Linked DNA regions of Homo sapiens: all the other regions are linked to region 4. The links are contacts of gene promoters, found by promoter capture Hi-C in human tissues and cell types (Jung and others, 2019). All regions are on one chromosome and are shown on one strand. Each heading gives the region's core, a stretch centred on a gene start or on the middle of the fragment in contact. The rest is flanking DNA. Distances are from core to core; before and after follow the strand shown. Region 1 overlaps GNAL (G protein subunit alpha L). Region 2 overlaps LOC101927511 (a long non-coding RNA gene). Region 3 overlaps GNAL (G protein subunit alpha L). Region 4 holds the start of CIDEA (cell death inducing DFFA like effector a).

Region 1 (5,486 bases), core at 411-2,910, 480 kb after region 4:
CCAGGAATCTTTCAGGGTGATTTACACAAAGCCTTTTAAACAGACTGCTCTAACTTCTAGTTGTTGCAATTGTAGGTAAGTGAGCATGTTATGTGCTTAGCCACAAAAAATGGGTAACTATGGGTGGGCAGTGGACATGAGACGTGCAAGCCCTGGTAAGGGGACACCTTGGTGCCAGACAACCCAGGGGCTGTGTGTCTTTGGGAGAACTGGCTGCCTCTCATCTCAGAGGTCAGGGAAGGCTCCCAGTAGAGATGATGGTGGCAAGTGAGGGATGCAGCAGATGTCACTGCTGAGAGTGAAGCACAAAGGCAGGTGCAGACCTGAGCCTGTAGCATAGAAGGGCAGGGCTGGGCCCACTGTGACGGGGCCTCTGTCCGCAGGGAGGATACCTACCACTCGATGGCAATGCTGTCTTCGCAGGACAGGGATGTAAGGGACTGTAATGAGAGACTGACAGGTGACATTTAATCTAACGGGTTGAACCGTAAGAAACTGCCATATCAGAGCTCAAAATTGGCCAAATATTGGCAATTTTTAATAGTTCAACCTAATAGATAATGAAACTCCGCTGTATAAATGCAGACCCGCACCCTGCATGAATGGAAGCGACAAGAAGAGAACTGGATGAGGAATCGGGAGACTCGGTTCTAGTCCTGGCTTTGCCTCCAGGTCAGCACATCTGGATGACCCTGGACAAGTCTCGTAGAGAGTTGCGCTAATGCCCTGCTCATCTGTAGAGGAAGTCTTGGATCAGACACACCTAAGTGCGCTTCCAGCTGAAATGCTAAGATTAGAGGCAAAGCCACCAAAAGAGCACAGATGGGGAAGCTTGGTCAAAACACAATGGAGACATCAACTCTATTTGGCCCTATGATCACCTGGAACAGGACGGCACTGGGGGCAAACTGATGGGCATGGAATTGAAGTGAGAAACCTGCAAAGATGCAGTCTCCTGAATTTCTCAGTAAAGAGAACCACAAGAGAAGCATGAGTGGTAATTTGACTTAAATACTAAGTATGGAATTTCAAATTTACCTTCAATAAAATCAACTAGGACAATTTAAAGCATTCTTTTTATTGAAGCACATACATTTCCTGAATTTCTTACAACTCTTTTCTATTATCTGTCCTGGTATTTTTATTTATTTCTGCTATAATAGTCATACTGTATTCATACCATAAAATTTTACACTGGAGCAAGTGTAATAAAAAAGTCCAAGAATGTCTCTCCATGATCTTCCTGTAGGGCTAGATGCTCTTGAAATGATTTGTATGATGTGGGGGACTTCTGAGAAGGAGCACCTCTGCGGTGTCCAAATTTGCACACAGGGGCGGGGCACCAGTAATCCCAGCACTTTGGGAGGCTGAGGCAGGTAGATCACCTGAGGTCAGGAGTTCGAGACCAGGCTGGCCAACATGGCGAAACCTGATCTCTACTACTAAAAAAAACAAAAAAATTAGCCAGGCATGGTGTCACACACCTGTAATTCCAGCTACTGGGGTGGCTGAGGCAGGAGAATCGCTTGAACCCAGAAGGAGGAGGTTGCAGTGAGCTGAGATCGCACCACTATACTCCAGCCTGGGTGACAGAGTGCGACTCCATCTCAAAACAAACAAACAACAAAAAAATTTGCACACAGGGCTGTGCTGGCCATACTGCACTTGCCACTGTCCCTGGTCTACCTGCTGAATTCACCCATTCTTCAAAGGCCAGGCCACCCCTCACCTTCCCTGGGATAGCACCACTATTTCTCCCAAAGGGCTGTGTCCACCTTCCCCTTGCCAACATGACAGTGTGTCCTAGGGGTTTAAGCTCTGTGAGCCCTGTGAGAATTCCCGTGGGTGTACACAATTCAGCTTAGTATTTCCAATGCTGAACATAGTTCCTGACACATATCAGGTCATCATTTAGAAAAAAAAATGAAATGCCTGTTCATATAAAACTGATAATGATTAATTTCATTATCATTAACTTCCAATTAGTTAATGTTAACATTAACATTAACTTCCAATAAGTTATGAAAATTCACATGATGATATAACACACTACTCACTATAACATTTTAACCAAAGAAATAAGAAACACTAATGATAATCTCTTTTTTTCTTTTTTTTTTTTTTTTACAGAGTTTCACTCTTGTTGCCCAGGCTGGAGAGCAGTGGCACGACTTCGGCTCACTGTAACCTCTGCCTCCCAGGTTCAAGCAATTCTCCTGCCTCAGCCTCCTGAGTAGCTGGGATTACAGAGGCCTGCCACCACGCCTGGCTAATTTTTTGTATTTTTTTAGTAGAGACAGGGTTTGATCATGTTGGCCAGGCTGGTCTCAAACTCCCGACCTCAGGTGATTCACCTGCCTTGGCCTCCCTAAGTGCTGGGATTACAGGCTTGAGCCACCGCACCTGGCCATGATAATATTTATTGGCTTAATTCTTTCAAGCAGTTAAAGATGTCAGCTGATGCCACGTGATTTAAGAAAAAAAGTAAACATATAACACCTTAAGAACTATTTTTAAAAAACTTAAATTTAAAACTAAATACCTTAAAATGATATATCTTCATTCAATATGTAAAGTATTAGAACACTTACATAATATCTAAAATTTAGATTATTTAAGGAGATTATTTAAGCTTGAGAAAATGGAGATAGGAACCTCCCAATAATTTAAAAGGTATTCTTTAGGGTAATGGTACACTCCTGTGGATTAAAAAAAATGCAACCTGATAATAATGCCATAAAATCTTTAACATTATTTTTAATAAAAATGAAAACTCAAATAACTGTTATTTTTCTACAAATACTCTGGTTAAAAATTACTCGTTTGACTGAGATTGCATAGACAGCTCTAGAAACAATCAAGAATAATGGGTGGTCAAACTCATATGATTCTCACATGGGTGGTGGCAGTAGGGAGGAAAATTAAGAGAAAATATGTTTTCCCTTTTTTCTTTTTTCAGAGATGATTCTAAAGGTTTTGCTATGAAAATATCATTCTTTTCAGATGTTTCTGAAGAATAATCATTGAGGTAAGTTTAATATTTGGTAATATTTTTATTTTTGTTTTTAAATTATTAATTTATTTTCAAATCATACTCAGTTTGAATTCAAATAGTTCAAAAATTAATATAATGCTTCAGGATGCTTCCAGCTATTGAAACAACTCAATTAAAAATGTACAACTCACTTTATTTTAGTTAAATTCATAATGCAGGTAATATTAAAAATTATTATGAATATTTAATAATGCTTTATAATTTGCTTTTATAGTACACCACTACAGACACATAAAAAGTTGAATTATCTAATTAAAACATTTTCCCTTCCTATGATTCTAATTCTGAAAACTATAAAAATATTAAAGTCATGTTACATATTTTTCAAAAACAACACTGCCATATCCCATCAATATTTGGTAATATTTTTAAAAAAATGTTCATCATTTACGTATTTTGTGCATGATTCAGCCTCTGCATGTGCCAGTGTGTGTGCATGTGTGTGTGTATATTTTAGACATGTGTGTAAATAGGTAGGATAAGCAAGATTGTAGTAAGGATCATTTTACCTCCACTTGGGATGAGAAAATGGAAATGGAAATGACTGAAGCAACCAACATTTGTTTATCTTTTTGCCATAAACTTACGTGCTTCATGAAATAAAAAATATATACTTCAATTTGTTTGAACATATTCTTTACCAACGTTTCTTTAAACACTAAGTAATTACGTGCATGTGTAATAAACTAACTCCCACAACTGTGGATTCACTTTAAGCTAAAAGATGATGCTCTTCATTTTTCTGAACATCATGGAACAAGTTTGTAGACCAAGGGCTCATTCTTGAGCTCTAGCCAAAGCTTACTGTCCCCCAGACCTGAGAAACTGATGCTGCTATGCTAGGAGTGGCCTTGATTTTGTGATGGGGATATGGCTTCCTGACTAGGCTCTGCTGATGACAATTTTACCTTCCCAGGAAGCCCTACTGTACGAAGTGCAACAATGAAGACTTTTGTCTGAGCACAATAGTCCTTATTAATCTTCTTTTCTGAATGGCTACAGAATGTCTAGTCTATACCACATGAGTTAGCATTAAACTACATGCCTTATTTTTCATTAATTTTATATTACACATTATATATATTATATATAATTTATATAATCTATATTATAATATATATTACATATAATTTATATAATCTATATTATAATATATATTACATATAATTTATATAATCTATATTATAATATATATTACATATAATTTATATAATCTATATTATAATATATATTATATATATTATATATTATATATAATATATTATAATATAGAATATATATATTCTATATTATAATATAGAATATATAATATATATAATATATTATATATAACATATAGTAATATATATAATATATATAATAATATGTTATATATATATTTTTTTTTTTTTTTGAGACAGAGTCTTGCTCCGTCGCCCAGGTTGGAGTGCAGTGGCGTGATCTCGGCTCACTGCAAGCTCCGCCTCCCGGGTTCACACCATTCTCCTGCCTCAGCCTCCCGAGTAGCTGGGACTACAGGCGCCTGCCACCAGGCCTGGCTAATTTTTTGTATTTTTAGTAGAGACGGGGTTTCACCATGTTAGCCAGGATGTTCTTGATCTCCTGACCTCGTGATCCGCCCGCCTCGGCCTCCCAAAGTGTTGGGATTACAGGCGTGAGCCACTGCGCCTGGCCTTTTTTTTTTCGAGATGGAGTTTCGCTCTTGTTGCCCAGGCTGGAGTGCAGTGGCGTGATCTCAGCTCACCGCAACCTCTGCCTCCTGGGTTCAAGCGATTCTCCTGCCTCAGCTGCCTGAGTAGCTGGGATTACAGGCATGTGCCACCACGCCCAGCTAATTTTGTATTTTTAGTAGAGACGGGGTTTCTCCATGTTGGTCAGGCTGGTCTCGAACTCCTGACCCTCAGGTGATCCTCCTGCCTCAGCCTCTGAAAGTGCTGGAATTACAGGTGTGAGCCACGGTGCCCGGCCTATACATTATATATTACAGACATCCTTTCCTTCACTAAGTGGTAAGGCTTTTGAGGCCAGAGGTCATAACTAACACTTCCTTTGTGTAACTCATGGTCCTGAGTACGGTGTTGATAAATACGTGGCTTTATGTACATTTACTGAGCATAACTATATGCCAAATGCCATGTCAAGTTCCTGTCCTCAGTAAAGGCATGTTTAGTGGAAAAACTACATGACTCATCATACTATGAGCTTTAAGAATCAAAGGTCAGGCATAAAAAATGTCAAATATGACACATAAATGTGCTTTCTAAATAAGTCTAGCCTTGTTAATTGGAGGGACTTAAAAGGGGGCAAATAACTAGTTTCTATAGTTATTTGGGTCTTACTAAGAACTTACTAAGTACTCAAGACTAACCTTTGGCAAATCAATATTTAAATAAGGACATCTACACAGCATGCAAACTGTGTTCTTGGAAAT
Region 2 (5,551 bases), core at 1,691-4,190, 330 kb after region 4:
GCAACATAGTGAGACTCCGTCTCAAAAAAAGAAAAAAGAAATCTGTGGCTGCTGCGCGGTTTCCTGGCCGACTTGTTTCTGTGCGAGAGCGAACAGTGGTGAGTGAGGAGCAGGAGAGGGCAGACCACAGCCCACACTGCCCTAAACGGCATCTTCCTCCAAGAGCTCCCTTTCTATTTTGTCTCCATTGCCCTGAGAAGGTAACTTTGGTTACGGTCTTTTGTTTGTTTTTTTGTTTTTAGATGGAGTTTGGCTCTTGTCGCCCAGGCTGGAGTGCAATGGTGCGATCTCAGCTCACCGCAACCTCCACCTTCCGGGTTCACGTGATTCTCCTGCTTCAGCCTCCCAAGTAGCTGGGATTACAGGTGCCCACCATCTCGCCCGGCTAATTTTTTATTTTTAGTAGAAACGGCAGTTTCACTATGTTGGTCAGGCTGGTCTCGAACTCCCAACCTCAGGTGATCCGCCTGCCTCGGCCTCCCAAAGTGCTGGGATTACAGGCGTGAGCCACGGCGCCCAGCCTGATTATGGTCGTTTAATCAGCCCTGCAATCCCCACTCCATAATGCCACCCTGCCAAGCTTCCTGAGCTGCTATCTTTAATGTTAGATGCTGGGGCAGGCAGAATAGTGCCCCTCAGATAGTCATGTCCAACTCCCCAGGCCCTGCCAATGTGTTACCTTTCATGGCAAAGGGGAATCAGGGTTGTAGATGGAACTGATATTGCTGTGGAATAACAAGAAAGATATTTGGTCGTTGTCCCTGGTTTCTGGCACAAAGCTCTAAACCCTTGGAATTTTGAGCAATAGAGTGTTAAGAGCCTCTTTTGTTTTAGTGAGGCAACTCTTGTACTTAGCTTCAGGGTGGGAGCTGGCTGCCAGAAAGACCAAGCTTGATTAGAAGATCAGCATTTCCTGCACCCCCTCCCCCAACCTCCAGGGAAGGGAGAGTGGCTGGAGATTGAGCTGATCACCAGTGGCCACAGTCAAACCTATGGACTGAAGCCTCCATAGAAGCCCCTAAATGATGGGGTTCAGGGAGCTTCCAAGTTGGCAAACACATCCTCATCCCAGAGGGTGGTGCACCCCATCTTGACTGAGACAGTGGCTTCTGCACTCGGGACTTACCTTGTCCTGGGTACTTCTTCATCTGGTTGTTCATTTGTACTCTATAATAAACGGTAAGAGTAAGCACAGCTTTTCCTGAGTTCTGTGAGTCATTCTAGCAAATTATTTAACCTTGGGGTAATGAGGTAGTTGAAACCTCTTTGTAGGAACTTTCCTTTGTAGGTCAATCAGCAGAAGTTAGGCTAACCTGGGAACCCAGTCCTTTCTTTGGTGTCTAAGGACAGTCTTGTGTGACTGTGGAGTCACACAATAACTCCAGGTAGTGTCAGAAAGGAATTGAATTGTAGGACACCAAGCTGGCATCAGAGAGTTGGAGAAGTGGTGTTGGAAAAGACACGGTTGATGTCAAGAGGAAGAAAAAACCCTCAGTTGTTTTTTTTTTCTTTTTGAGATGGAGTTTCACTCTTGTTTCCCAGGCTGGAGTGCAATGGCACGATTTCAGCTCTCTGCAACCTCTGTCCCCCAAGTTCAAGCAATTCTCCTGCCTCAGCCTCCCGAGTAGCTGGGATTACAGGTGCCCACCACCACGCCTGGCTAATTTTTTGTATTTTTAGTAGAGATGGGGTTACACCATGTTGGCCAGGCTGGTCTCAAACTCCAGACCTCAGGTGATCCACCCGCCTTGGCCTCCCAAAGTGCTGGGATTACAGGCGTGAGCCACCATGCCCAGCCAAAAAAAACCCTCAGTTGCTAATTAGCTGATCTTAAAAGTGGGACATGATCCAGATGGACACAGTGTAATCACATAAATCCTTAAACGTGGAAGAGGGAGGCAGAAGAGGATATCAGAGTGGTGCCATCTGGAAAGAACTCAACCACTGTTGCTGTGTTCGAACATGAAGGAAGGGACCAAGAACCAAGGAATGTGGGCAGCCTCTAGATGCTGAGAAAGGTGAGGAAATGGAGTCTCTCCTAGGGCTTCCAGAAAGAACACGGTCCTGTCGACCTCTTTATTTTAGTCCAGTAAGACCTGTGTTGGGCTTCCAATCTTCAGCATTAATAAATTTGTGCTTTTTCAATAATAAATTGGTGCTTTTTCAAACGACTATGTTTATTTTGTATTATTATCATTTTTTGAGACAGGGTCTCACTCTGTTGTGCAGGCTAGAGTGCGGCAGCACGATCATAGCTCACTCCAGCCTCCACCCGCTGGGCTAAAACCATCCTCCTGCCTCAGCCTGCCGGGGCCATCATGCCCTGCCCAAAGCTACTGTGTTTACCAATAGTTTCTTAGAGCAGCAATAGGGAACGAATACAGGTTCAGATTCAATTTACATCTTTTTCTTTGTGGTGGGGGAGATGGTGACAGGGCAGGAGGATCGCCGTCTTGGACAAGCACTGTCCTTCTAAAGTCCCCCTTGATCAAAAACCACCTAAATCCAAAGGGCATCAGCCTAATGGCTAAGGTCAGCATGGCCATAAACCACAAATGACAACTCTGGCCAGAAACATTCCAACCACAAGATAAACACCTCCCCGACCAGAGACATGCCATCCCCGAGATAACCTCCCCACAGGCCAGAGAGATGTCAGCCTCAAGATAACCTCCCGTCCAACTAGAGACGTTCCAACCCCAAAATAAACTTCTCCCTCATGCAGAAACATTCTGAGCCTGTGATAAGCTCCCTCACCCTAAAACCAATAAATACTCTTAGTCTATAAGAGAAAGCGCTCCTGACCAAAAATGGCCAGAAGCCCCTCTCAAGTTTATTTTCCAAAATAAACCTGTCTTTGACTGTTGAGCTGCTTTTCATGTTTCTTTCCTCTTTAATTCTTACAGATGGAGTCTCGCTCTGTTGCCCCGTCTGGAGTGCAGTGGCGTGATCTCAGCTCATGGCAACTTCCACCTCCCGGGTTCAAGTGATTCTCCTGCCTCAGCCTCCCAAGTAGCTGGGATTACAGGCGTGTGCCACCATGCCTGGCTAATTTTTGTATTTTTAGTAGAGACAAGGTTTCGCCATGTTGGTCAGGCTGGTCTCGAACTCCTGCCCTCAAGTGATCCACCCGCCTCACCTCCCAAAGTGCTGGGATTACAGGAGTGAGCCACTGCCCCCAGCCACCATTTACATCTTGATCTTATTCATGTTTCATTTATAGTCATGCATTGCTTAACCATGGGGATAAGTTCTGGGAAGTGCCTCATTAGGCAAACATCACAGAGTGTACTTACACAACCTAGATGGTACAGCTGACTATACACCCAGGCTATACGATATAGCCTATTACTCCTCGGCTACAAACCTGCCCAGCACGTGGCTGTCCTGAATACTGCAGGCTGTTGAAACACAATGGTCAGTACTTGTGTATCTAAACAGAAAAGGTTCAATAAAAATACAGTATAAAAGAGAAGCCGGGCTCGGTGGCTCACAACTGTAATCCCAGCACTTTGGGAGGCTGAGGTGGGTGGATCACCTGAGGTTGGGAGTTCAAGACCAGCCTGACCAACATGGAGAAACCCCGTCTCTACTAAAAATACAAAATTAGCTGGGTGTGGTGGCACATGCCTGTAATCCCAGCTATTCAGGAGGCTGAGGCAGGAGAATCGCTTGAACCCGGGAGGCGGAGGTTGCGGTGAGCGAGATTGCGCCATTGCACTCCGGCCTGGGCAACAAGAGCAAAACTCTGTCTCAAAAATAAATAAATAAATAAATAAAGGAGAAAATATGCTACCCCCTGTATAGGCATTTACCATAAATGGAGCTTGCAGGACTGGAAGTTGCTCTTGAGTCAGTGAGTGAGTGGTGGGTGAAGGTGAAGGCCTAGAACATCACTATACACTACTGTAGACTTTATAAACACTGTACACTTAAGCTATACTAAATTTCCTAAGTCTTTTAAAAGAATAAATTAAACTTAGCTTACAATAACTTTAACTTAGAAGACTTTTTAATTTTTAAAAGCTTTTTGAGTAATTTGTAATAACACAGCTTAAACCACAAACACATTGTACAGCTGAACCAAACATATCTTTTTCTTTCTCTTTCTTTCTTTCTTTCTTTCCTTCTTTCTTTCTTTCTTTCTTTTTTTTTTTTTTGAGACAGTCTTGTTTTATTCCCCAGGCTAGAGTGCATTGGTGTGATCATAGCTCATGACAACCTCAAAATCCCGGGCTCAGGTGATCCTCCTGCCTCAGTCTCCAGAGTAGCTGGGACTACAGGTATATAACATCATGCCTGGCTAATCAAAAATATTTTCTTTCTTGGCCAGGCGTGGTGGCTCAAGCCTGTAATCCCAGCACTTTGGGAGGCCTAGGCGGGCAGATCACAAGGTTGGGAGATCGAGAGCATCCTGGCTAACACGGTGAAACCCCGTCTCTACTAAAAATACAAAAAAAAACAAAACAAAACAATTAGCTGGGCGTGGTGGCGGGTACTTGTGGTCCCAGCTACTCGGGAGGCTGAGGCAGGAGAATGGCACAAACTCAGGAGGTGGAGCTTGTAGTGAGTGGAGATTGCGCCACTGCACTCCAGCCTGGGTGACTGAGCAAGACTCTGTCTCAAAAAATAAATAAATAAATAAATAAATAAATAAATAAATAAATATATATATATATATATATATAACTTCTTTATATTCTTATTCTATAAGCTTTTTTTTCTATTTAAATTTTTTTTTCTTTTTACCTTTCAGATGTTTTATTTAAAAATAAGACACAAACATCTACCTTAGCCTAGGCCTACACAGGCTCAGGATCATCAATATCACTGATTTTCATCTCCACATCTTGTCTCACTATAGGGTCTTCAGGGACAGTAACACACATGGAGCTGTCACCTCCTGTGACAACAAGATAACAATGCTTTCTGAAGCACCTCCTGCAGGAACCTGTCTGAGGCTGTTCACTTTTGTTTATAAGCAGAATGAGTATATACTCTAATGTAATGATAAGGAAAATAGCATGGTAAATACATAAACCAGCGAAAGTCATTCGCTGTCATTATCAAGTATGATGTACCGCACATAATTGCATGTACTGGACTTTTACATGACTGGCCGTGAAGCAGGTGTGTTTATACCAGCACCGCCACAAACACATGAGCAATGCGTTGCTATACAACTTTACTATGGCACTGACATCACTAGACAATAGGGATTTTTCATTTCCATTATAATCTTATGGGACTGCTTGTTTGTATGTGCAATCCATCATTGACCAAATCGTTATTTGATGCATGACTGTATTTTGTGTCTTGCTTTCCTGCTAGAGTAATGCTTCTTAAGCATGCATTTACAGTTGACTCTCATGATTCATAAATTTGGACTTGACAAATCTGCCTACTCGCCAAAATTCACATGTAACCCCAAAGTCAATACTCACAGTGCTTTTGAGGTAATTCACAGGCATGCATGAGTGACACAAGATTTGAGTTGCCCAAATGCACGTTCCCAGCTGAGGTGGAACAAGGCGATGCTCGGCCTTCTTGT
Region 3 (6,187 bases), core at 592-3,091, 460 kb after region 4:
GTTCATCCATGCTGTGGCAAGTATCAGAACTTCGTTCCTTTTGATGGCTGAGTAATATTCCCTTGCACGGATAGAAGACATTTTGTTTATCCATTCATCTGTTGATGAACATTGGGTTGTTTCCACCCTTTGGCTATTGTGAATAGTGCTGCTATCAACATTAATGTGAGATACGTTTGATCCTCTGCTTTCAGTGATTTTGGGATTGCTGGTTCATTTGGTAGTACTATGTTTCAGCTTTTGAGAAACAACCAAACTGTTTTCCACAGTGGCTACACCATTCTGCACTTCCAGCAGCAATGCATGAGGGTTCCAATTTCTTGACATCCTTTCCAACACTTGTTATTTTCTGTGTGTGTGTTAATTATAGAATTCTAGTGGGTGTGAAGTGGCACCCCATTGTGGTTTTGATTTGTGTTGCCCTAATGACAACAGATGTTGAACATCTTTTCATGTGCTTATTGGCCATTTGCATATATTCTCTGGATAAATGCTAAGCAAGTCCTTTGTCCTTTTTTTTTTTTTTTTTTCCCGAGATGGAGTCTCACTGTCGCCAGGCTGGAGTGCAGTGGCGTGCAATCTCGGCTCACTGCAACCTCTGACTCCCGCTCCAGCCTCAGCCTCCCAAGTAGCTGGGATCACAGGCACGTGCCACCACGCCCAGCTAATTTTTTATTTTTAGTAGAGGCACAGTTTCGCCATGTTGGCCAGGATGGTCTCGATCTCCTGACCTTGTGATCTGCCTGACTCAGCCTCCCAAAGTGTTGGGATTACAGGCGTGAGCCACTGCGCCTGGCCCCTTTGTCCATTTTTAAATTATTTGTCTTTTTGTCGTTGAGTTGTAGATTTTTATTTTTTTAGAGACAGGATCTTGCTCTATTGTTCAGGCTGCAATGTGGTGGCACAATCATAGCTCACTGCAGCCTTGAATTTGTGGACTCAAGTGATCCTCCTGCCTCAGCCCCCCAAGTAGCTGGAACTACAGGTGCATGCCACCAGGCCTGGATAATTAAAAAATAAATTGTCTTGTAAGAGATGGGAGTCTCAATTGTTGTCAAGGCTGGTCTCAAACTCCTGGGCTCAAGAGATCCTCCCACCTCAGCCTCCCAAAATGCTGAGATTAAAGGCATGAGCCACTGCACCCAAGCAAAAATTCTTTATATATTCTGGTTACTAGACCCTTATCAGATACACAGTTTACAAATATTTATCTCATTCTGTGGATTGTCTTTTTGCTTTCTTATGTCCTTTGATGCACAAATTTTAAAATTTTGATGAAGTCCAATTTACCTATTTTTTTCCTTTGTTGCTCAAGCTTTTGATGTCATATCCAAGAAATCACTGCCAAATCCAAGATCATGAAGATTTACCCCTACATATAGTCTTAGCTCCTATATTTAGGTGATTGATCTACTTTGATTTAATTTTTGCATATGGAGTAAAGTTATATATGTCTCTTAGAATTAGTTCAATCTAGATTATTTCTCAAATTTCCACAACTTTTTATTGGAAAATGACACTATTCAATAATATAACAAGTCCAACTATATAAACATACCTAAAGTTACTAAGGGATTTGGTAGTGTCCTCTGTCATATGGAAGTTGCATCACCATGTCACCAGGTTGGTAGTTTGCCAAAGACACTTTAAGACAAGAATTACCCTCTCCTTCAAATCTTATAATCAATGCCCAAGTATTCCCTCAGTGCCAACAATTGATCAATCATTCAACAAATATTTATTGAGCTCTAACTCTGTGCTAGGCACCATGCTAGGAGCTAGGATACTGCAATGAATGAGAAAGAGGTGCCCTTGTCCTCAAAGAGTTTGTAATTTTGCAGATTATGTGTCTAGGACAAGGCGAGATGGCCAATACTCCTGTTCTCAAGAAGTCAACACTTCAGTAGGGAGACTATGGCTAAGACATACCAAGTAATTAGAAAACAATACAAGACAAGCTGGGTGCAGTGGCTTATGCCTGTAATCCTAGCACTTTGGGAGGCCAAGGCGGGCAGATCACCTGAGGTCAGGAGTTTGGGACCAGCCTGGCCAACATGGTGAAACCCCATCTCTACTAAAAATGCAAAAATTAGCCAGGTGCGGTGGTGTGCGCCTGTAGTCCCAGCTACTCGGGAGGCTGAGGCATGAGAATTGCTTGAACTCGGGAGGTAGAAGTTGCAGTAAGCTGAGATTGCACGCCACTGCACTCCAGCCTGGGAAACAGGGTAAGACGGAAGGAAGGAAGGGAGGGAAGGAAGGAGGGAGGGAGGAAGGAAACAATACAAGGCAGTAAGTACTGGATATAATTTCGTGACCAAAGCTATGGTGCCAATTAGGAAAGCCACAGGAAGTGGCCAAAAAGGGAGAGGTTGCTCAGTTTCAGGACAGGTTGGAAAGGTCTCCAAAAGAGGTGGGTCTGAACTCAAAAAATTAGCAGGAAATTAAAATCGGAAATGACAATAGTCATAATCAAAATGATTAACAGTCTTTAACAGACTGGCTTAACTGTGCAGGAGACACCTGTACCAGGGGAGACACCTGTGAGAGGTGAGGCTGACAGTGCTGCACTATGGATGTGGTGCAGACCCTCGGGAGTTCTCGGCACACCTGGATCACTGCAGAGGTAGACATGGGAAGCTACTTGAGTCCGAAGTCCTTTGTGTCCTACTTCGAGTCCTTGCAATGAAACCCAATGAAGCAGAAAACTTGATAGATATCTGTCTACAGCAGCTAACCAGTCTAGATGATTGCACCTATAAGCTAACTCTGTTATTCTCTAATATAAAGTCTTTCCTAAATAGATCACATGCAGTAGCTTAATTTTTTGTGTGTGTTTACTATCTGAGCTTAGTATCTTATTAAGATAGTGTGGAGTTGGTTGTAGTTCCTCCCCCACTTTAAAAGCTTTTAAAATGTTTTACCAAGAGAAACACCCAGGGGAGAAATCAGTTCATTTATTTCAAACAAACAAGCATGATCTCTTGATAATCAACCTTCTGTTTAGAAGGCAAAAAGCATCCCTTATGGCTTCTCTGGTTTCACCCCCTAACCCAGGCGTCTTCACTGCTCAACAGGGGAGCCTGTTCTGCTATGGCTATGGAAAAACACCTAGCGGTTCCCATTCCTGTGGCTGGCAACAAAGAAACAAACAGGCAGGAAATTTAAAAATAACTGTGGCTAGTTGCTTCCTTCAGAGTTTCAACATTACTTTCATGGAAACCTTCACTAGGATCCTAGCCATGGCTTAAGAACCCACACAAACCATTTAGCCATGGCCACCACCATGCCGAAAGGACATGCTTAACCAAATTGTTTGGCCTTCCCTTCACAGCTTTAAAGTGACAGTTTAATTTGAAAACAACTCTGGGAATTAGTCACCTCTCATTCCTGAAATCTGGATATCTTGCTCTGTAAATCCTAAATAGTAGTTTCTGGTTTTTCTTAAATTAAGTATTGGAATAGTTTTGATTGAAAAACCATCAGCTGGCTGGACGCGGTGGCTCACGCCTGTAATCCCAGAACTTAGGGAAGCTGAGGCAGGCGGATTACGAGGTCAGGAGATCAAGACCATCCTGGCTAACACGGTGAAACTCCGTCTCTACTAAATATACAAAAAAATTAGCTGGGCGTGGTGGCGGGCACCTGTAGTTCCAGCTACTCAGGAGGCTGAGGCAGGAGAATGGTGTGAACCCGGGAGGCAGAGCTTGCAGTGAGACGAGATCGTGCCACTGCACTCCAGCCTGGGCAACAGAGCAAGACTGTCTCAAAAAAAAAAAAAAAGAAAAAAAAAGAAAAGAAAAGAAAAGAAAAACCATCAGCCAGGCTGGAAGCCAGAGAATTTTACATAAGTGTCAAAGGGGCCTCAGAGGCAAAAATCAAACATGTTAACACTGATTTCCACCTTGGCACTGACCTCCTTTGCAGTTAAGAATTGCTGAATTAAAATAAGTGGTTAAAAATGCTTTATGAGTCTGTATTAAAAATGAAGTCCATCTTAGTGTGAATGTTACATTATTGTAAACAACACATCCCCAAGGACACATTGATGTCAGAGTGTTGGAAGCTGGGGGAATCGTGAGGAGCTGACAAACGCCCTGGAGAATTTCTTCCTCAGAGTGTCGGAAGCTGGGGGAATCATGAGGAGCTGACAGACGCCCTGGAGAATTTCTTTTGTCCCAACAATGGTGTGCAGAGACCCCAGGGGCAGGGCTCTGAACACCCCCTGCCCACTTGCACAAAAGATAGCTCTCAACCCCTCATCCAACAACTGGCTTGAGGAGGTAAACTTCAAATTATTAAAACCATTCTCCCACTTTAATTTTTACTTTGAATACATTTGACATCTCATTGTTCTAAGAACAACAGCACCCTTCCTGGGCCACTGGAGCGTTCTAGAAAGCTTAAGCCTTTACTTCCTGGAACTTTCTTCTCATTTGCATCATCAGTGATCTGAGTCTGACCTTCTTCAACTATTCCTGTGTTTACAAGGAATCCGGTTTGTGATGTTTTACTTCAAACAAAATCCTTTTATCTGAGGCTTTTCCTCTGCAACACAGCAGCATCAATGAGCTAGAAGCTGCATCTTATTACACTGACACTAACAACAAGGCCCTTTCCCAGCTTCTGGGTCTAAGCTTTTCACGTCCTTCCTCTGCAAGCCACATGAGCAGTATATGTATCAATGGCATGTAAGACTCTGTGTCCACCTAAGAGCATCTCCAGATTCTGGTAGCAAATGCTAAGACAGAGGTGATGATAAAATATAAGGAGGAAAAAGAAGACATGGTACTTTATTAGAACAATCCACTTAAAGTACATTTTGTTTATGCTTATAATCTATACAATGATAACTGGATTGTTGGATCCGTGGGGAATCTGCCTATCTATATATAGTCTTCCCCACCATATGGTGCCATAACCTTAAGTTATATGCACATGGAGTTACCCAAATGAGCTAAGAAGTTGTGAGAAAATGCTTAATTAAAGTAGGTTTGCAAATCATCCTCAATCAATGCCAACTACGTGGGAATCCATCATCACAGTCCGTAATGTTAGAGGACAGTTGCTGGGGCTAGAATTTTCAAAACCACTTTACACTTCTTGTATCACTTATTGCTTACCCAGATTTAAATACCTGAGTATCTGGCAGCAACATGTGATAGGAAAGGGATGTTTTCAACAGACTCCACAATTTTGCCTGAGGCTAGCTAAGGTCTTGGCAAGTAAGAGCAATGCCCTGTTACTTAGGACAGTGATTGAGGGCCTCAACTGCTCCTCTGTGTTGTGGCAGGGTTGGCAGAGGTGTGACCTGAAATGAAGGAGGCCCAAGAAAACAGGTTGTGTGGCATCGAGAAAGACTAGTTAGAGGTGGGAGCAGGTGCTGAAACTGAGATAGGCCTAGAGATGGAACTTGTGGTATCAAGTCCTCTTTATAACTAATACTCTACATTTAACTTATCTTACACATTCTATTTTTAAGAAAAAACACTTTTGATATATATGTGTATATATATATATATATATATATTTTTTTTTTTTTTTTTTCGAGACGGAGTCTTGCTCTGTCTCCTAGGCTGGAGTGCAGTGGTGTGATCTCTGCTCACTGCAACCTCTGCCTCCCAGATTCAAGCGATTCTCCTGCCTCAGCCTCCCTAGTAGCTGGCATTACAGGCGTGTGCCACCACACCCAGCTAATTTAGTATTTTTAGTAGAGACGGGGTTTCACCATGTTGGTCTTGAACTTCTGACCAGCCTGACCACCAGGCTGGTCTCGAACTCCTGACCTCAGGTGATCCGCCTGCCTCCGTCTTCCAAAGTGCTGGTATTACAGGCATGAGCCACCATGCCCGGCCAACACTGTCAATATTTTTAATAACTGTTAATAAGTTTTAATGAATCAAGATTTGTTCTGAATTGTAAACATAAAAAGGACTATAGGACAGTACGATTCTTGGCATGATTGTGGAGTGTAAGTACAGAGAAAATGGGGTGGGGGCACACTTATAAATGAGGCCATCTGCATGGGGAACCACTCCTCACAGAACAAGGGCATTGCTGCAAGTTCGCTGTCAGTTTCTGACCACCTCTTAACTCTGGTTATGCCTTGAGAGCCACACTAGGTGTTGCGTTGTGACTGCCACACCTCCTGGTGCCTTAGAAGCCTTTGGGGAGCTATTAAAATAGATTC
Region 4 (5,575 bases), core at 378-2,877:
CAAAGAACTGCAGCAACAGCTTGTCCATAACAGGTAGAGTCATTCACTCCTGGGATGAGCCAAGCTGGAAGGAATGTGTCCTAGGAGACTCAAGGTTTCCCAATGTTTCATTTGTCAACAGCTCATAAGCAAGTCACTTCCACTTCACACGACCTCACAGAGACCCCACACAGATGCATTTTGGATTTTGGTGAGCTGTTATAATAGTCAGAGGCAGGGACAGGCTCAGCCTGAATCCTGCTCAGAGGCCAACCAGGATTGGTTAGTGCGAGTCAGCCCACACCTCCTTCCCCCATGCTCCGGAGGAACAGTGGGTGTGTTGTGAATTCACTGGAAAAGTGGTTGGAAGGACGCATTCCAAACTGCTAAGACCTCCCCTCCTGGAAGTGGGACTGTGGTGTGGATGGTTCTGGAAGAACGCAAAAGATACAGGGCCCTGACCTTTAGGCCTAAGCGTGTTAATGACCATACACGAAGCAGGTGTTTCTCAGCGTCCCCCTGCCACCGCCCCGACTTGTACTGTGGGCTTATTTTTAAAGAGAAAGATGCTTCTAACCTGCAGTGTCTACAACAGCTCCCATTTAAGAACCCGGGATTGGAAGCTCATAGATTGCGTTTCGTAGCCGGACCGCTCCCTTTCACACATGTAGTCTCTCTGCCCGCCACACGTAGCACACACAGTGGGACCCGGCGCCGCTGAACGCCTGCACCTTCAAGCCCGCAAATGGTTCTCTATCCTTTTCCAGGTACTTGATCTTCAGAGAAACACGATCTCCCTCTTAGACCTTACTTTACAGTTGCTGCCACGCAATGACTTAGGATTTTACCAAGAATTGGCTTGGGTCTGTTGGGATATGAATATTAACCCAAGCAGGAAAATAGCCAATGCTGCCTGTTCGACCACGAGCGGGTGCGAAGCGCAGGGAAGACTCCTCAGGGTCCACCCGCCCCTTGTCCCCCCTGCTCCCCAGGCAGCGTCTCCGCCCTTGGACCCGGAGGCAAGGAGGAGCGCTTCTCCCAGCACCACCAACCTGGAGGGCTCCGCCGGACGGTTGGGGCCTCCCCTCGGAGACCAGAGCCCGCGCTTCCAGGAGGGGCCAAGCCTGGGCCCCTCCCGCGCCCAGCTCCCGTTGTGATTTCCAGGACCCCCAGAAGCCCGGTCCCCTCGCATCGCGGAAGCTTTGCTCGGGGTTCCTGGGACCGGACCCTCTTCTGCGCCCGCGACTGCAGCAGCGGCCAGAGATGCATGCAGCCACTCGCCAGCTGTCACCTGGTTTGCAGACGCCCGCGCACCTCGCAAGAGCCACACCTGGTACCTGTGCCCAGCTGCAAGAGGGTGAGGAGGCGCGGGACGGGATTGGGCTCTGCCCGCGGGCGCGGCTGGACGGCTTGGGCACCAGTGGGGCGGATGGGTGTGTGCGCGGGGTCGCGGAGCGCAAGAGAATGCGGGGAGCAGGGGGCTGAAGGGAGCGGGGTACGGTACTAGAGGCGCACAGGGGAATATGAGGCCACCGAACGCAAGGCGATTGGAAGCGCACGGCAATCAGGGGGACGCGGGGCACTCGCCTGATGAGGGCTCCTGCATAGTCCCGGGCGGCCTCCATGGCGCGGATCCCCTAGCGGGCCTGGAGGTCTGTCTGCCTGCACAGCCTCTTAAAGTGCGGCGGCCCCGCCCCCGCCCGCCTGCCAGCCCCGCGAAGGCCTGACTGGCGCAGGGGAGGACGTTTTGGCACGAGCTCTCCACCGCCGAGGATCGCGACTTCGCGCTCTGGGAGCCCCCGGTCGTCCTGGCTCCCGCAGCCTGGAGCCGCGCGTCCTTCGCTGCCTTGGGCCGTACCGAGGACCTTGGAAGCCCAGATGCTCCCCGGGTCTCTTTTGGTCACTTGCCAGCCTGTTCGTTTTGCACTTCTGGGGGTCGGGGCAGTTGGGGTCATAACCAATCCTGGCAGCATCACTTTGGCCGCGGAAAGACGGGTATGTGGATTTTAAACCCAGGCCACGGGTGGGGCAGGTGAGGAGACGGATGTGAGCGCCACTTGCCTCCAGCTCTGGAGTCCCCCAGAGCCCAGCCCCAGGCTCAGCGAGCCGCTGGTTCCCTGCAGGGATGCGGAAGCTGCCGCAGACACCGGGACCTGCAGCCCTTCAGGTTCTCCGAGGCGCCTGGGCTTCCTGCCCGCTGCGCTGCTCTCAAGGCCATGTCATGAGCATTTGGGGACAGTGAGAAGGGCATGCAGAACGGGAGGGGAAAGGAGCCTTTGGACTGCATGAATTGCCTTTTAGCTGTAGTAAGGGACCCTCGCAGAGTGAGGAGGCAAAGAGTGAACCCCGCTGGGGCTGGGGGACTTCCGTCCACACCCTGCTCTCATGGTTGTTCCCATCGGAAGACGCAATTAGGGCCTCTGAGACCTCCGAGGAAGGCGGGCAGTTACAAGGGGTTCCCAGAACCCCTCACTACAGGACTGAAGAGGTGGGCTCAGTGTTGAGGGGTGGGACTCGGGCAGTAAGAGGTGTAACTTTCTGGGATGGAGGCTTGCTAGGATATCCTCTCGTGCCCAACTGCTGACTGCCGCCTGGAAACAGCGTTTCGGGAGCTGCAGCGGGACCCTCGCCGGCTCCTCCTGAGCCCACCTGGTTTGAGCAGACTGACCTGATCTCTTAAGACCTGACCCTATGCCCGCCCTCTTCCTCCGCTGGCTCTCAGAAAGGGTCACCGTGGTCAACAAGCCTTGTGACTTGCAGGACTGTTGAAGCCAAAGGCAATTGCCTTCCAGAGTCAAGGACTCCGCCTGCTGGGAACACCCAGCTCCAGGCTCACAGGGGGCAGCTTCCCCCAGAGGCACTGAGCGGACACAGCTTTAGGAGGTCATTCACTGCCCCTCCCACTCACAGCCCCAATGTGATGGATGAGAAAATGGGTCCAATCAATTCAGGTCAACTTACCTCTAACCTTTTTATTGTGAAAAAGTTCAAATATAGAGATACATAGAAAGAACAGGGCTGAGGGTACTGGCTTACATCTGTAATCCCAGTACTTTGGGAGGCCAAAACAGGAGGATGGCTTGAAGCCAGGAATTTGAGACCAGCCTGGGTAACACTGTGAGACTACTATCTCTACACAAAAATAACGATAATTAGCCAAGCATGACGGCGAGCACCTGTAGTGCTAGCTACTCAGGAGGCTGAGGAGGGAGGATCACCTGAGCCCAGGAGTTTGAGGTTGCAGTGAGCTGTGATCATGTCACTGCACTCCAATATGGGCAACAGAGTGAGACTTTCTCTCTAAAGAAAGAAAAAAATCTGTTTGTGTGTATATATCTATCTATCTATATATAAGATAGATAGATAGATAGATAGATAGATAGATAGATAGATAGATAAGAGAGAACAGTACAATGAGCACACTTACACCCAGCCCCTGGATTCAACCACTGTTAACATTTTGACATATTTCTTTGTTCTTTATATTTGAATTTGAACCCTTCCAAATTAAATCCTTTAGCTTGCATCTCTGGAGAAACAAGGACATGATCTCATACATAACCATAGTGACATTATCACTTCTAACAAAATAAAAATAAAGACCTGGGCACTGAGTGTGGACATGGGGGTGGGGTGGGGACTAGCAAACATTTCCAGGCCATGGCGATGGCAGAAGGGACCCAGCAGGAGATCACCCTGGGGTTTTGAGCTTGGGAGACTGGAGAGATGAGGAATCCTGGACGGGAGCAAGTCTGTGGTGGAAGCGGAGATGGTGGTGAGACCAGGCCCTGGGGACCCCTTGGTCACGGAGGCAGCATAGCCCTGGTGTGCATTGGTTCTCATGCAGATCTTCAGGCTGGGAGTAAAAGTCGGTCACTGCCCTGCTGCTGAGTGGGAATCCTGGAGTGCTGCGCTAGGAGGGTGGTGGGGAGAGGTGGGAGAGGGCAGAGGGCAGACTGAGCTCCAGGGGACTTGGCTGCAAACCCAACAGATGATGGAGAAGACAACAGTGCGAGTCATGCCCAGCCTTCCAGCATATTCTCGTCTCCAGCACACAAATTCATTCCACTCTCACTCGACAGGTTTCATTCATCCATGTTCAACAACTACTCTGTGCCCGGGCAACCAGGATTGGGAACCCAGCTTTTTAGTTCAATTCACCAAATGTTTGTTGTCACAGAGCCTGTGCAGCTGTGAACAGTGGGCTCCACCTGACACCCACACCCTCAGGGAGGGACCTCAGCATTGCCTTCCCTCGGCTCCCAGCAGTATCTGTGGGGTGATGCCACAGTGGGCTCTGCTCTTTCTCCAAAGTATGGATGCCTCCCCACTCCCCGAGTCTCAGCATGTGCTGGGCACAGCCCATGCTCTGGAGTGCAGAGACCTAGGTTCCTAGCCTGGTTTTGCCTCCTCTAGCTGGGTGACCTTGGGCCAGTCACATAACTACCCCAAGCCTCAGATCTTCATCTGTCACAGGGCAGCGGCCTGTCTGTCTCACAGGGTGTGTGAGACTCAAATGCCATGAGGGAAGGGCCGGCCTGGTCAGCTCCAGCAGCGTGAGTGGGACTGACCACGACAGCAATGAACGGCTCCACTCCCTACTCCTAGCCAAGAGCGCGTGCCTGAAACAGAAATTGATTCCCACTTACCGCAATACGTTATAAACATCGGTGCTTAGGGTTCAAAGAAACTCCAGTTTCTAATCCAATTTCTGTTTTTGTTTTTTTTTGGTGGAGGAAACAATCATCCCTGAACTTTGGCCTTGCTACTTTCAAATTCTGTCACTGTGGGAACTTTCCTTTTTGAGCTTCAGTTTCTTTATTCCTACTGATCCCTGATGACATGCACTTTTTACCAAGTTTCAGTGGGGTGCAGTGAGAGTCGAGTGAGGTAATGCTTTTGAAATACATTGTGAACCATCAAGCACTGGAAGAGGACTAATCCAAACACCGTTAAACACATAGCCAGGGCATCTTCAGCAGAATGGTCAGTAAGGCAAATAATTTATTTCAATTTGCTCTGCTATTTGCCAAAGCCAAGTGTCCTCCTATTTCCGTATAGCTTCCAGCCTCCCTGTTTGAAAAAACTTTCTATAGTTATTTATACTAAGGTGTAAATGATTGCTGTCCCACTCAGCAAGCATTTTCTGAGCATCTCACTGGTTAGCTCTCCACCAGGTCCATTCCCCCGCCCTCTCTGTCCAGCCCTGTGCTCAGGAGGCTGCCCCACGGGCTGCTCCTTGCCCTTGGGCTACCAGTTGGTTCATGCTGGGCTTTAAAAAATTAAGAACAATTGTACTGCAGAATAATGTGCATCTGCGAAAATGCACAGATCTTTGTGTGAATGTTTATGTTCATAAACTGCTTGGATCAAGACAGAATATTTGCAGTGCCCATTAGGCTCCCTTTGCCCCTTCAAGGCCGTACCACCCACCCCACACTGGAGATCACACTGTTTATTTTATTTTATTTTATTATTATTATACTTTAAGTTTTAGGGTACCTGTGCACAATGTGCAGGTTAGTTACATATGTATACATGTGCCATGCTGGTGTGCTGCACCCATTAACTCGTCATTTAGCATTAGGTATATCTC

What was found. Contacts are between HindIII fragments. The study calls those that stand out against the background at their distance.
Region 1: a fragment that was not itself captured here is called in contact with the fragment with the promoter of CIDEA in region 4 in 2 of the 25 tissues and cell types used here (dorsolateral prefrontal cortex and lymphoblastoid cells).
Region 2: a fragment that was not itself captured here is called in contact with the fragment with the promoter of CIDEA in region 4 in 1 of the 25 tissues and cell types used here (IMR-90 fibroblasts).
Region 3: a contact is called between a fragment that was not itself captured here and the fragment with the promoter of CIDEA in region 4, in 2 of the 25 tissues and cell types used here (IMR-90 fibroblasts and spleen).

What each region holds. Positions count from the first base shown.
Region 1 is chr18:11,767,856-11,773,341 of GRCh38, reverse strand. The region is part of intron 4 of GNAL (G protein subunit alpha L); the gene reads right to left. Among named protein-coding and RNA genes, the nearest start is that of CHMP1B, 81 kb to the left of the region's middle. The HindIII fragment of the contact is 3,169 bases long and covers 76-3,244 here.
Region 2 is chr18:11,923,018-11,928,568 of GRCh38, reverse strand. All of the region lies in intron 2 of LOC101927511 (a long non-coding RNA gene), which reads left to right. Among named protein-coding and RNA genes, the nearest start is that of MPPE1, 17 kb to the right of the region's middle. The HindIII fragment of the contact is 4,409 bases long and covers 736-5,144 here.
Region 3 is chr18:11,788,255-11,794,441 of GRCh38, reverse strand. The region is part of intron 4 of GNAL (G protein subunit alpha L); the gene reads right to left. Among named protein-coding and RNA genes, the nearest start is that of CHMP1B, 60 kb to the left of the region's middle. The HindIII fragment of the contact is 5,353 bases long and covers 1-4,517 here.
Region 4 is chr18:12,250,413-12,255,987 of GRCh38, reverse strand. CIDEA (cell death inducing DFFA like effector a) reads right to left here and starts at 1,627. Exons shown (of 5, transcript NM_001279.4): 1 at 1,567-1,627. The coding sequence starts at 1,604. It overlaps LOC105371996 (a long non-coding RNA gene), which reads right to left and starts at 975. Exons shown (of 2, transcript XR_935158.3): 1 at 557-975; 2 at 1-409. RefSeq lists an enhancer at 1,885-2,491. The HindIII fragment of the contact is 10,266 bases long and covers 271-5,575 here.